Linked DNA regions of Homo sapiens: region 1 is linked to region 2. Evidence: promoter capture Hi-C in 16 types of primary human blood cells and fetal thymus (Javierre and others, 2016). All regions are on one chromosome and are shown on one strand. Each heading gives the region's core, a stretch centred on a gene start or on the middle of the fragment in contact. The rest is flanking DNA. Distances are from core to core; before and after follow the strand shown.

The links. Contacts are between HindIII fragments. The CHiCAGO score rates a contact against its expected background, and 5 or more counts as called.
Region 1: a fragment that was not itself captured here is called in contact with the fragment with the promoter of STK26 in region 2 in 1 of 17 cell types (naive CD8 T cells); the score reaches 6.6 in naive CD8 T cells.

The regions. Positions count from the first base shown.
Region 1 is chrX:130,168,325-130,173,776 of GRCh38, reverse strand. RAB33A (RAB33A, member RAS oncogene family) reads right to left here and starts at 1,815. Exons shown (of 2, transcript NM_004794.3): 1 at 1,457-1,815. The coding sequence starts at 1,714. RefSeq lists enhancers at 1,278-2,232, 3,042-3,091 and silencers at 2,352-2,431, 2,602-2,661. The HindIII fragment of the contact is 882 bases long and covers 3,157-4,038 here.
Region 2 is chrX:132,021,225-132,026,617 of GRCh38, reverse strand. It overlaps STK26 (serine/threonine kinase 26), which reads right to left and starts at 3,316. Exons shown (of 12, transcript NM_016542.4): 1 at 3,211-3,316; 2 at 2,959-3,110. The coding sequence starts at 3,000. RefSeq lists enhancers at 2,635-2,704, 2,674-3,221, 3,075-3,234, 3,685-3,734, 3,222-3,768 and a silencer at 3,275-3,524. The HindIII fragment of the contact is 2,994 bases long and covers 2,281-5,274 here.

The sequences.
Region 1 (5,452 bases), core at 2,348-4,847, 1.9 Mb after region 2:
AAGTCTTAACCAAGCAAATGTCAACAGCCCCAGGAAAGGACAGAGACAGATACCGCCTTTGACTTTAAAAGGAAATGTAGCACTTCCCTTCCAAAATGCAAGGGGCAAAAAAGATCACGATTTCAAAATAATGTTCTATCTTCCTACCCTGGGGCTCTCCCTTATCAGTACTGAGCTGTCCATCTTCCTGACATCTAGTGAGTTGGCCTAGTTTCTGAAGCCATTTTTAGAACACGTTCATTTTAATAATCAAGGAGTCAGGAGTCTCGCACAGTTTCAAGTGTTTCATCAGTTTCATCAGTTACTCAGCCCTTCTCTCCACGTCACTCAGAGGAGGGGCCTTGTGGTCACTTTGGCAGTTTGACCAGCAAGAAGGAGGCTTACTGTCACCCCTGACTCTGTCTAAGGTCCAACCATACGCTCAAGGAAAGGCCAGCTGTGAGCCTAGAGGAGTTGTCTTCAGTGATCCCAGTGCCTTTATAGAGGCCCCCCTCTGCTCCCCATGACACAAGAAGTTGCCCTTGTTATGTCCTCCCTCCCGCCATCCCCTGCACATTGACATATTCCTGTCATATCAGGTTTCTACCTTTTCTGAATTAAAGGTGAGCACAAATGGTCAGACAAGAATATTTGCACTTAGCCTATTACATAAACTCATGGAGGGGGAGGATTGAACATTCCCCTGGCCCTCGGTTAAGTCACTGCATTTTTACAAAGACCTGAAGACAATACCAACAGAATGAATAAGGAGCAGTTCATGTATTAGATGCCCCAGACAAGTAAAGAAGATATCATTCCAGGGGGGCTGTTACAAAAAAACAAGTTTTGTCTATTACGAAGGGCTGGACCCTGCCTCAATTTCTTTAAAAGGGCTCATGGCTTTCTGCCAGAACCACCCCACTCCACCGCCATCTCAACTCAGCCCTAATTTTTTAACTATAAACTGCAATTTAAAATAAAGCAGCTTTTTCATTCTCCATGGATTTCCATCATTTCCTTCCCTCTAACGCCTTGAGGCTTAGCCAAAGTGGGGTTTTGCAGCCTATCGGCACCCAAGCAGTAGAAGAGACATCAGGATGTGTAAAGTGCTTTGGGATCCATCCCAGAGACTAGGACCCACAGATGCCTCCTGCCTCCCTCTGCCCACAGGTGCCGCTGCTCGGGGTAGGGGTCATGGATGGGAATCCAACATGCTTTTCCTGGCAGGACCTGTCAGGCAGGGGCTAAGGGTAAGAATGCAACCCCATTCTCAACCGCCCTAAAAAACTGAGTGAAGTGGGGACGGGGCCCCGCTGAGAGAGGTGAAAAGGGGTGAGGAGGAGCCGAGGGTCCTCGGCTCAGCAAGAGGCGAAACCGCCACGCGCTGGACGCTGGACGACGACAACCGCTAGAGCTATGCCTCGGGCGAGGTCCCCTCCCGGGTCCCACCCTTCCTGGACCTGACCCCCTGGATCACCTTGATCTTCTCGCCCTCGATTTCCACGGTCTTCTCCCTGAAGTCCACGCCGATGGTGGCTTCAGTCTTGTCTGGGAAGGTACCCCCGCAGAAGCGGAAGGTCAGGCAGGTCTTGCCCACGTTGGAGTCCCCAATCACGATTATTTTGAAGATGCGAATCTGCACGTACTGGTCCAGCGACGAGTCGAGCTCCAGGGACGCCAGGCCAGCGGCCGAGGCGGGCTGCAGGCTCCCATGGCCCAGGATGGGCTGCGCCATCTCCCCCGGACCGAACCGGGGCCCCAACCCCCCTTGAGGGCTCCACACAAAGAGAACGTCCACGTTCGTGCGCTCGAGGCGAGCGAGCTCTGTGCGTGTGTGTGTGCGCGCGTGTGTGTGTGTCCGCCCGTGTGTGCGTGCGCCGGCACCGTGTGCGCGCGCGCGCGTGAAGGGGGTGCCTCTCACTCCGGGCCCCCCTCCTCCTCCTCCAGCGCACCCTCCTTGCAGCTCGGAGGCACCAACACAAAAGCCAGGGAGAGGAGGAGAGAGGGAGGAGAGTGGACGAGCCGCGAGCCTTCTGCCTGTGTGCGCCCTCGGACCGGATGCTCTGGCGAAGGACCCTACCGCGCTGCTCCAGCCGCCGCCGCGCCTCGGCCCACACCCTCCCCTGCCTGCATTCCCGGGACGGACCCGAGGGAAGAAGCCTCAGGAGGAAAGAGACGGGGTGGGGACAGCGGCACACGCCACCCCGGGATAGACTTCTTTCTCCTTGCCCCCGTTTATGTTATAGGTTTCGGGCTCCCCACCCCCACTGGCTCGAGCGCACGGGGTCAGCGGGCAGGGAGCACAGCTGGGGAGGACAAAGAGCTGCACCTTAAGACATCACTGGATCACTTCGGCCTCCCTGGAGCAACGCAACTCTGCGGGGATGGGGTGGGGGCGGAGGCACCTCTTTCACCTCGGGAGCAGCGGGCAGCTGAGCCGCGCCTTCCCGGTCCCCGCTACCCCGTCCCCTCTACCCCCACCCTCTACCCGACCCGCGCCTTGGGATAAAGGGATGCTCTGTCTTAATGAGTGAGCAGGTGCACTCGCGGGCCCCAGGCAGCCTGGGAGGCCGCTGCCAAGACACGCAGTGGGTTGTCCGGGGCCTGTACAGCTGAGAGGAGGGAGCCAGCGGGCACGCGTGTGCGTGTGTAGGGGGTGTAACTGTTTCTGTTACAGACTTGCCAGATGTAGGGGGGCGCGTACCAGGCGCCAACATCCCCTTATCACACCACGCGCACCCATCCTCTGAATGTTCAGGAGAGCGGCTCCTATTGGCTGCCGCAGTCGGTTGTGTTTGGCTGGCCAATGGGGAAGGCCCGCCGCGGGAGAGGGCCACACAGAGGCTAGGAGAAGGGGGGGAAGCTAGTGGTGGCAGTTCCAGCAAAAGGGGACTTTGTTTACGGGGCTAGCCATTACTGGCCCAGGTGGAGGATCTTGGGACAATGGCATAAGCTCCACAGTGCCTTCCATTCCCAAGCCCTCCATATAACCATAAGTCCCTCCAGAACGCTGGAGTTTCAGAGGGAGTTGGGAATCCCTAGGAGGGTTCACCTCCCCCTGCAGCTGAATGTAGAACAAAGTGGTTGGGTCTAATTTGCCAGAAGCCTAGATTATGCTTGGAAGATGATAAATGAACACAACCTCCTTACAGTATTAGGGGGCTGCTGCCCAAAGCTTACTAATCATCACACACATCTTGGTCAAGACCAGTATTCCTTCTCCCTAAAGTCATTCGCGGGTTCAGAATTTGTTTGAAATCGACTTTACTGGGGGTACAATTTACATACGATAAAGTGCACCCATTTGTTTCTTTTAAGACTTTACCTCTCCCCCTACATATTTCATAAGCTAAGGTAACACTGACACATGTCACTAGCACTGACTCGTGAGTTATTGCTAATGCCATCAAGGTCAGGGATTCAAACAGCACAGTTGAGCTGCCATCTTATTTGGGAGGTTGAGCTGCAGGAAGAGACAAACATGACCAAATCCATTTCTGCTGAGAGAAAAACAATTCAGTGCATCAGTGATATACCTGAAAGCAAATTGGAATGTGACTACTCAAGGACGTCCAAGTTACTCAGAATGGCATCTTCCAGTTAATAAGTTTATTAGCTGAGCTAGCAGATATATTTACAGCTAACCCTTTTATCATATATGTGGGTCGCCCATTTCTAAAACCCTACATTATACTACTCAGCATTAAAACTACCCAGATAAGGATTTCCTCTTAGTTGGCTAATCCAAAATCATCCTTATGAATACCAATTTTCATTGTATTATGTATCAATCATCATTGTACAGTATTTTTGGTTTTGATTAGTCTGATGCCTAGTTTGCTGGATCGTTCCCCTCTGTATTGGAAGTTAATGCCCCTGATGATCTTTATCTACAGAATAGCTTTAAGGTGGAGAGGGGTAACTATTAATTAGGTACATCCTGTACACAAAGTAGAAAGGGGCTTTGCCCTTTGCCAATTCACAGCTAGAATTAATGCTAACTTCCTGAGAGATATTAAAAAAACATATGTACATAATAAGATTATTTCAATGTAAGCTTCTAGCAAAAACTTGTCACTGAGTCTACTTTTGTAAGGAAGAAACTTTGATTTCTGAAAATATGATATCTCAAAATGGGCTTCTTGCCCTAATAAAAGGTGTCTGTTACTTCTGTGGGGTGAGACTTTGGGGGATTTCCACTTATATTTTTTGGAATTAATTCAATGAGTATATATTGCTTTTGAAAAAAGATAAAAATATAATTTTTAATTAAAAGGACAGGAAAACTACCTTATTGTACCTATTGTAAAAAAATTAAATGTACTGTACAATGCCCTTTGTGTTAATTGTGCATTATTAAATTACTTTCAAATACATGCAGTTGTTTTCATAGGTACCTGATTATCATGATTTTGACAGTGTTTTCCAGTCTCTTTTGCCATCAGATATAATTAACTTTGTATTTAATCAATCCATGATTATTGGTTTTTACAAATATCAATAAAAATCAATGCAAGGCTGTTAAAATGTTAAGTAAATATAAATAATTTTTACCTTACTTTGGAATTGATACTTTTTTTTTTTTTTTTTGAGATGGAGTCTCGCTCTGTCACCCGGGCTGGAGTGCAGTGACACAATCTCGGCTCACTGCAAGCTCCGCCTCCCAGGTTCACGCCATTCTCCTGCCTCAGCCTCCCAAGTAGCTGGGACTACAGGCGCCCGCCACCACGCCTGGCTAATTTTTTTGTATTTTTAGTAGAGACGGGGTTTCACTGTGTTAGCCAGGCTGGTCTCGATCTCCGGACCTCGTGATCCGCCCGCCTTGGCCTCCCAAAGTGCTGAGATTACAGGCATGAGCCACCGTGCCCGGCCTGGAATTGATACTTTCAATATTTATCCCCTGGCCTAAAGTGATCCACCCTCCTCGGCCTCCCAAAGTGCTGGGATTACAGGCATGAGCCACAGAGCCTGACCATATTTTCAATATTTATCCAAAGGAGCTCTAGATAAAATGTCACCCATTGCCTGCACTTCTGAACACTGATCTACTCTGCTTAATGGGTAAGGGAGCCCTGGATCATCTTCACCACATAATGACTACTTCCTAGGCCTGGCACAGTGGCTCACACGTGTAATCCCAACACTTTGAGAGGCTGAGGCAGCAGGATTGCTTGAGCCCAGGAGTTCAAGACCAGCCTGGGCAACGTAATGAGACTGTCTCTTAAAGAAAACCAAAAAACAAAACTACTTCCTGGGTTAAACTTCACAGAAGGGTGTCTTTGTAGGCCGGGCGAGGTGGCTCATGCCTGTAATCCAAGCACTTTGGGAGGCCGAGGCGGGCGATCACCTGAGATCAGGAGTTCAAGACCAGCCTGGACAACATTGTGGAACCCCGTCTCTACTAAAAATAGAAAAATTAGCAGGGCGCGGTGGCATCTGCCTGTAATCCCAGCTACTCGGGAGGCTGAGGCAG
Region 2 (5,393 bases), core at 2,067-4,566:
GGGAAATATCTTAAACTTAAGTATGATTTATAACTGAAAACTTCAAAGAAAACAGGGTTTGAATCATTAAAGAGTAAATATTTGAGTGGAAAGAAACAGGTTTATTGGTTTTTTTTTAAGTTGTACTTTAAATATTTTCAAGAGTTCAGCTACTGGTATGGAAAATTCCTCTAGTTACACACTAAAGAAGTAAGCACAAATTAAGTACAAAAAACTTCATACCCTCAACATTTGGTGTAACGTGGCAAAAAATGTTCGTTACCACAATATTAAGAAATATCAACAATATGAGTTTGAATAACTAATTCATAAGGAAGAGTTTGAACTGGACGAAATCCTGGGTTTTCTTTCTTCACTCCAAGTTTCTTTTCTATTTTAAACTAGTGGCAACAGCAATTTCTTTGTTTGAAAGTCAGGAATGCTGGAAATCTTAAGTGATAGAACAGGTAGCTGGGCTTCTACTTCACGTCTCTCCTCAGAGGGAGAAAATAATTGTGGATAAAGTAATTTTCTTTGTATTTCTGGAAAAATCATTTTTCCCATCAATCTTCATAATTCTCTAAAATAAACTGTTAAAAAGTTATAGGCTGGTCGGCTACCTCACCCTGATTTGTGGAAACACTATACAGTAATTTCAAGAACACATGGCTAACTGAAGTTTTCTAAAGGTCTAAAAGTTGCTCCTAACGCCTTCATAAAACTCTAGGAGAATTTTACAAGCTCACGATAGATTTCTGCATCTCATCTGCAATATTTTGCTACATAACAATAATAAAAATAGTCTAGCTTCAAGAGTCACACTGCATGCTATCAAATTTATTATTAAGGTATTGTACATTTTCAACTATGGAAAAAACTGTGTGCTGCACAAAGTGCTTAAGAACTACATTAGAAATAAAATGGAAATAAGAAGTTAAGAATTTACCATTTCATTAAGATGAAGAGAATGACCAAAAAAAAAAAAAAAAAAGATTCCTCTCTTCTTTGCTAACGTTGAGATGTTTGCCCTACTCAAATTAGGTGGGACAAAGTAATCACAACTCAGAGGGCACAGAGTGAAAGGCAGAATTTGTAATTTAAAGTATATGATTCACATTCGAATCCACATTAATTAAGATTTAAAAATTCAAGAGATAGGCAACTCAGATAATTAAAAGCAGGGAGCAATCAGAAATACTGAACAGCAAGCAGTTCCTAAACCATATAAATTCAATAAGTTCAAGACAAATAAAATAAAAATCAGAAACCATTTTCCCCTCAGCACACAGAGTTCCCCAGAATCACAAACTTGATGAACTGGAGGCACTCACTCTGCTGACGCACACACGCAGGCTCGCGCACACAATGGAGCGAGAAGCATGGAGACCCTCAGAGACAAACTTCACATGTGCATCGTTTTACTCTCCACAGAATGGAAAGAAGAGCACGGTGAGAAAATGTCACTTTTTCCCAGATCAAACAGCAAAACTGTACTTAGTATTGTGAACTATGAATTCCCTTGATACAATCAAAGGCAGAACTGAATGAATGGGGTGTGGGGCAGGGTGCGTGGGGAAAAGAAGGAGGGAAGGAGAGGGGAGGCCGCCTGAGAGGAAGAAAGTTTAAGGCATTTTGCAAGGCTTGAGTGGATTAATCTTTTTTTTTAAGCCCTACTATTTCCTATTTCCCTTTCTCTCTCTCTCTTTATTTAATATACACTAACTTCCTGAGACTCAACCCAGACTTGCCCTAAATGCAGCTGAAATGTCTGGTGTTTAGGACACACCAAGAGTTCTAGGTGCACAAATAAATCCCATTTTGGGAAAGAATTTAAAAATCACTTTTGTGGACATTCATAAAATGAGAACACTGAAAAAAAAAAAAAAACTCCATGTATCAATAAGTAAATTGAGGCCCCAGTCTACAGCTCTTTGATTTCTACTAGAAATATAAGCTATTTACTATAAACATTTTATTTTTGAACTTCAAAAAAGTTTGTTTTCACATTTTAGATCATGAAAGACTGAGGCTTCAGTGGTTTTAGCCCCTAAATGGGTTGTTTAGGCCATCTAGCAAAGGAAAAAAAAATAGAACATGAATGCTTTAAAAAGTTAGTAAATTTGGATAACACTTAGCAGATAGCCTAAAATGCACCGATTTAAAAACATAACAGCATAAAAAGTTTTCTGACATAGCTTATCTTTAATAAAATGAAAATATAATGGGAGGGGGTTGGGCTGGGTAGACTTCGAGTAACAAGTTGGGTCCCATGCAGTAGTCCCTTGTCCAAGACAAAAAGCTTCCTTTAACCACATGTAACAGTCATCTTGTGGGAAAGGCACGGAGGGGGCTGAGAAGTCATCACCTCAGTGACTCTGAACAGAACCAGCATTTCTCACGCCACACTATGGGCTGGGCTAGGTCGGGGAGCAAGCTACAACTTTGCCCTTAAGCAGCAGTACCGAAAGGGAGAAAGAGGTCACCTCTCTCTTAGCCCTACGCACACAGGAAGAGCCCAATTCAAGCCGCCGCCGCCGCCACCCCTGGTGTTGCCCCGCCCCAACTTGAGTGTGTGTTTGGGGTGGGGGGTGTAGGGCACTCACTACTCGCGTTATACCCCACAAATTCCAAGGCACTTCCATCTCTCCCAGGTTAAGTTCCGCCCCCCCATCCCCAACCGTGCCAAGCTCAGCAGGCGCAGGTGTCTGTGGCTCTGGCCTATTTTTATACCCCCAACCGCCCTCAATCTCCACCTAGTTGCGCGCTCCAGTCCCGCCTCGCCTTCCCAGCGAAGAGCACTACCTAGCCTACACACCAGGAAACACCTCCAGCCCTACTCCCAGGTCACCTGGCCATAGTGACCGGCCCTGCCCTCAGGGGAGCCCTGGGGCCGTCCCTTGTCGCCGGTGCCCAGCACCGAGGGCGCACCGGGCTCCCAAGCAGTCACGTGGGCGGCGGGGGCGGCCTGCGCTTCCTCACCTGCATCCCAGGCACTTGGACAGCCACCGGCGAGTGGGCCATGGAGGCGAATGCTGCCTCGCTCCGCTTCTGCGGCGGTGGCGCCTTGGGTTCGGACTGGCTCCTCCCTCCGGGGGTAGTTCGGCGGCCCTCCCAGGCTTTTCGATCGGGGCCTGGGAGGACACACAAAAGTGGGGTTACTGGGCTGGCGGCGCGTAGCCCGGGGCTAGGAGGTGGGCTGTTAGCGGCGCAGCTCCCTGGGACTCAGTCTACCTTTCTGGCGCCCGCCCGCCGCTGAAGCAGCCGCCTCCGCTGCTGCTCCTCTTCCTGAACGCCGAGCGCTGTGAGTGGTGGTGGCTGGGACCTGGGCTCGAGTGATGCCGCTCCTCTGCGCCTCGCCGCTTTAGGAAGAGGAGGTGGAGGCGCCCCAGCCACCCGCCTGCTCGCCTGGCCTGGGAGGCGGTTGGGGGCGGTTCCGCCGTTGGCCCTGCCCCCGCCCCGCAGCCGGGCGGTGTCGCGGGAGCCAAGGCTCCAGGCAGCGAAGAGGTTTGGCTGGGGTTGCTGGAGTCTGAGAAGCTGGAGACTCTCCCGGCACGCGGAGAGGAGAACCCGGGGACCCGGAGACCTGGGACATGGCTGGGCCTGGGAAGAGAATGGAAGAGTTTGGGAAACCCTGAGGGTATGAGGGCGCCCCAGATGCGGCCACGTTGCAGGGAGGCGTGCGAGGCTGGGGCACACGCAGCCTCGGAGACGACTTGAGCTGAAACTTGGGGAGTGTTGGAAGTCTTTCTTGGCTCCCCGGCCTGGCCAAGGGTAGGATTACAGATAGCCGCGGAGTCGGTGGACCCCCGCTTTTTCCCGCCATCTGGTCTCCTCAGCTGGGGGTCGCGCCTCTGGGCAGATCTGTGGCCACACTCTTGCTTTCCGAGTTCCCTGACCCCAAACATGCTTCAGGTGACTTCAACTTAAGGTTCCCCCTACCTCCTGGGCTATCCCTTGCAGAACGGCCAAACTAGGGCTTCTCTCTACCACAAGTTCTGCACGTGTAAGGCAGAGGGAAATTGGAAAACAGATGGTACATCGGCAGAAAAATTAATGAGGATAGTAGAGGCTTGGGAAATGAGATTGGATCGTTAGCAGTACAGGTTATTGAAATCAGCATACACTGCAGTGGTTTTGGTAACTCCCTGCCTCCGCCCCATTTTAAGTTCTACTCCAGGAGAGGGAGACAGGCTCTTTTGAGAGTACTCTAACAGTAGCGACAGTAACACTGGTAATAATAGTAACAGGAATTTCATTATGAAGGCACCTTTGGGAACACGTAAGGGGTTAATTACTTTTTAAAAAAGTAATAGTCGAGTGCCAGTTTAAAATGAAGATGAAGTTCCTTACCTTGAAATTTGTTATGGGTCTCTACGCACCACACGGTGGGGGGCCTCTAGTGGTAAAAGATAGTTTCTCTTCTTCCTTTTAAATCTTTTTCAGAGAATAGTATATAATTCTTATCAATATCGTTATTATTAATGGATATTATTTTCATTGTGCCAGGGACTGCTAAGTGCTTTCTATGTGTTATTAATACCTTACTGAACCTGTACAAGGGCCTTCTGGAGTCTTATTGATTTCCCCTCATTTTACAGATGAAGAAAAAGGCTCAACCAGGTTAAATAATTTGACCGAAATGTCACGCAATTAAGAAGTGGTACAGCTGGGAATTCAGACGCAGGTCCCTCTGACTGGTGATAAACTTACTACTTTCTCTATGGTTTCTGTTTGTGTTTAATGATGATAAAAGGTACAATTGCATTTTCCTTACTCCTAGTTCCCCAAGTCCAGCCCTTCACTATTTCTAACCTAATGTTAGGCTCCAATCTAGTCTCGATTTCCCACCAACCCAGCTCACAACATTGCCAGCCTGACCGGAAACCTGCAGTGCCACCTAAACTTTTAATGTCCATAGAAATCCGAGGGTTCTTTTGCTCCCTCAAAAGCGCAGATTTTTATCTCCCATGTCTGGACTGGGCCCAAGATTCTGCAATGCTAACAAGCTCTCACATGGTGATGATGTTTAGATCACACTTTTAAGTCGCAAGGGTCTGAATCAAGCTCCATCATTTAAGACCTGTCTCAAATCTCACCTCCATTGACCCTTCCTAGTTGCTCCAAGCCCTCCTTCAAACTCCTCCAATGTGAGCAGCGCTCACACTGTAGTTCTTTCTTCTTATTTCATATATTTCATTTGTTTTGTGTGCCCATATTAGGTCCTTGAGGGCAGAGATCCAGCCTCTCTTACATGAGAATGATTCAGGTAGGATGGCAGGAGTCTGAGGGCAAGCTTTTTATACATTTTGTCCATTGCTGTATCCCCAGAGACTAGGTTCATGGCATGTAGTAGGCCCTCAATAAATAATTGTTGAATGAATGAATGAACTTCTTTTGAATTCTCCACTGAGGTT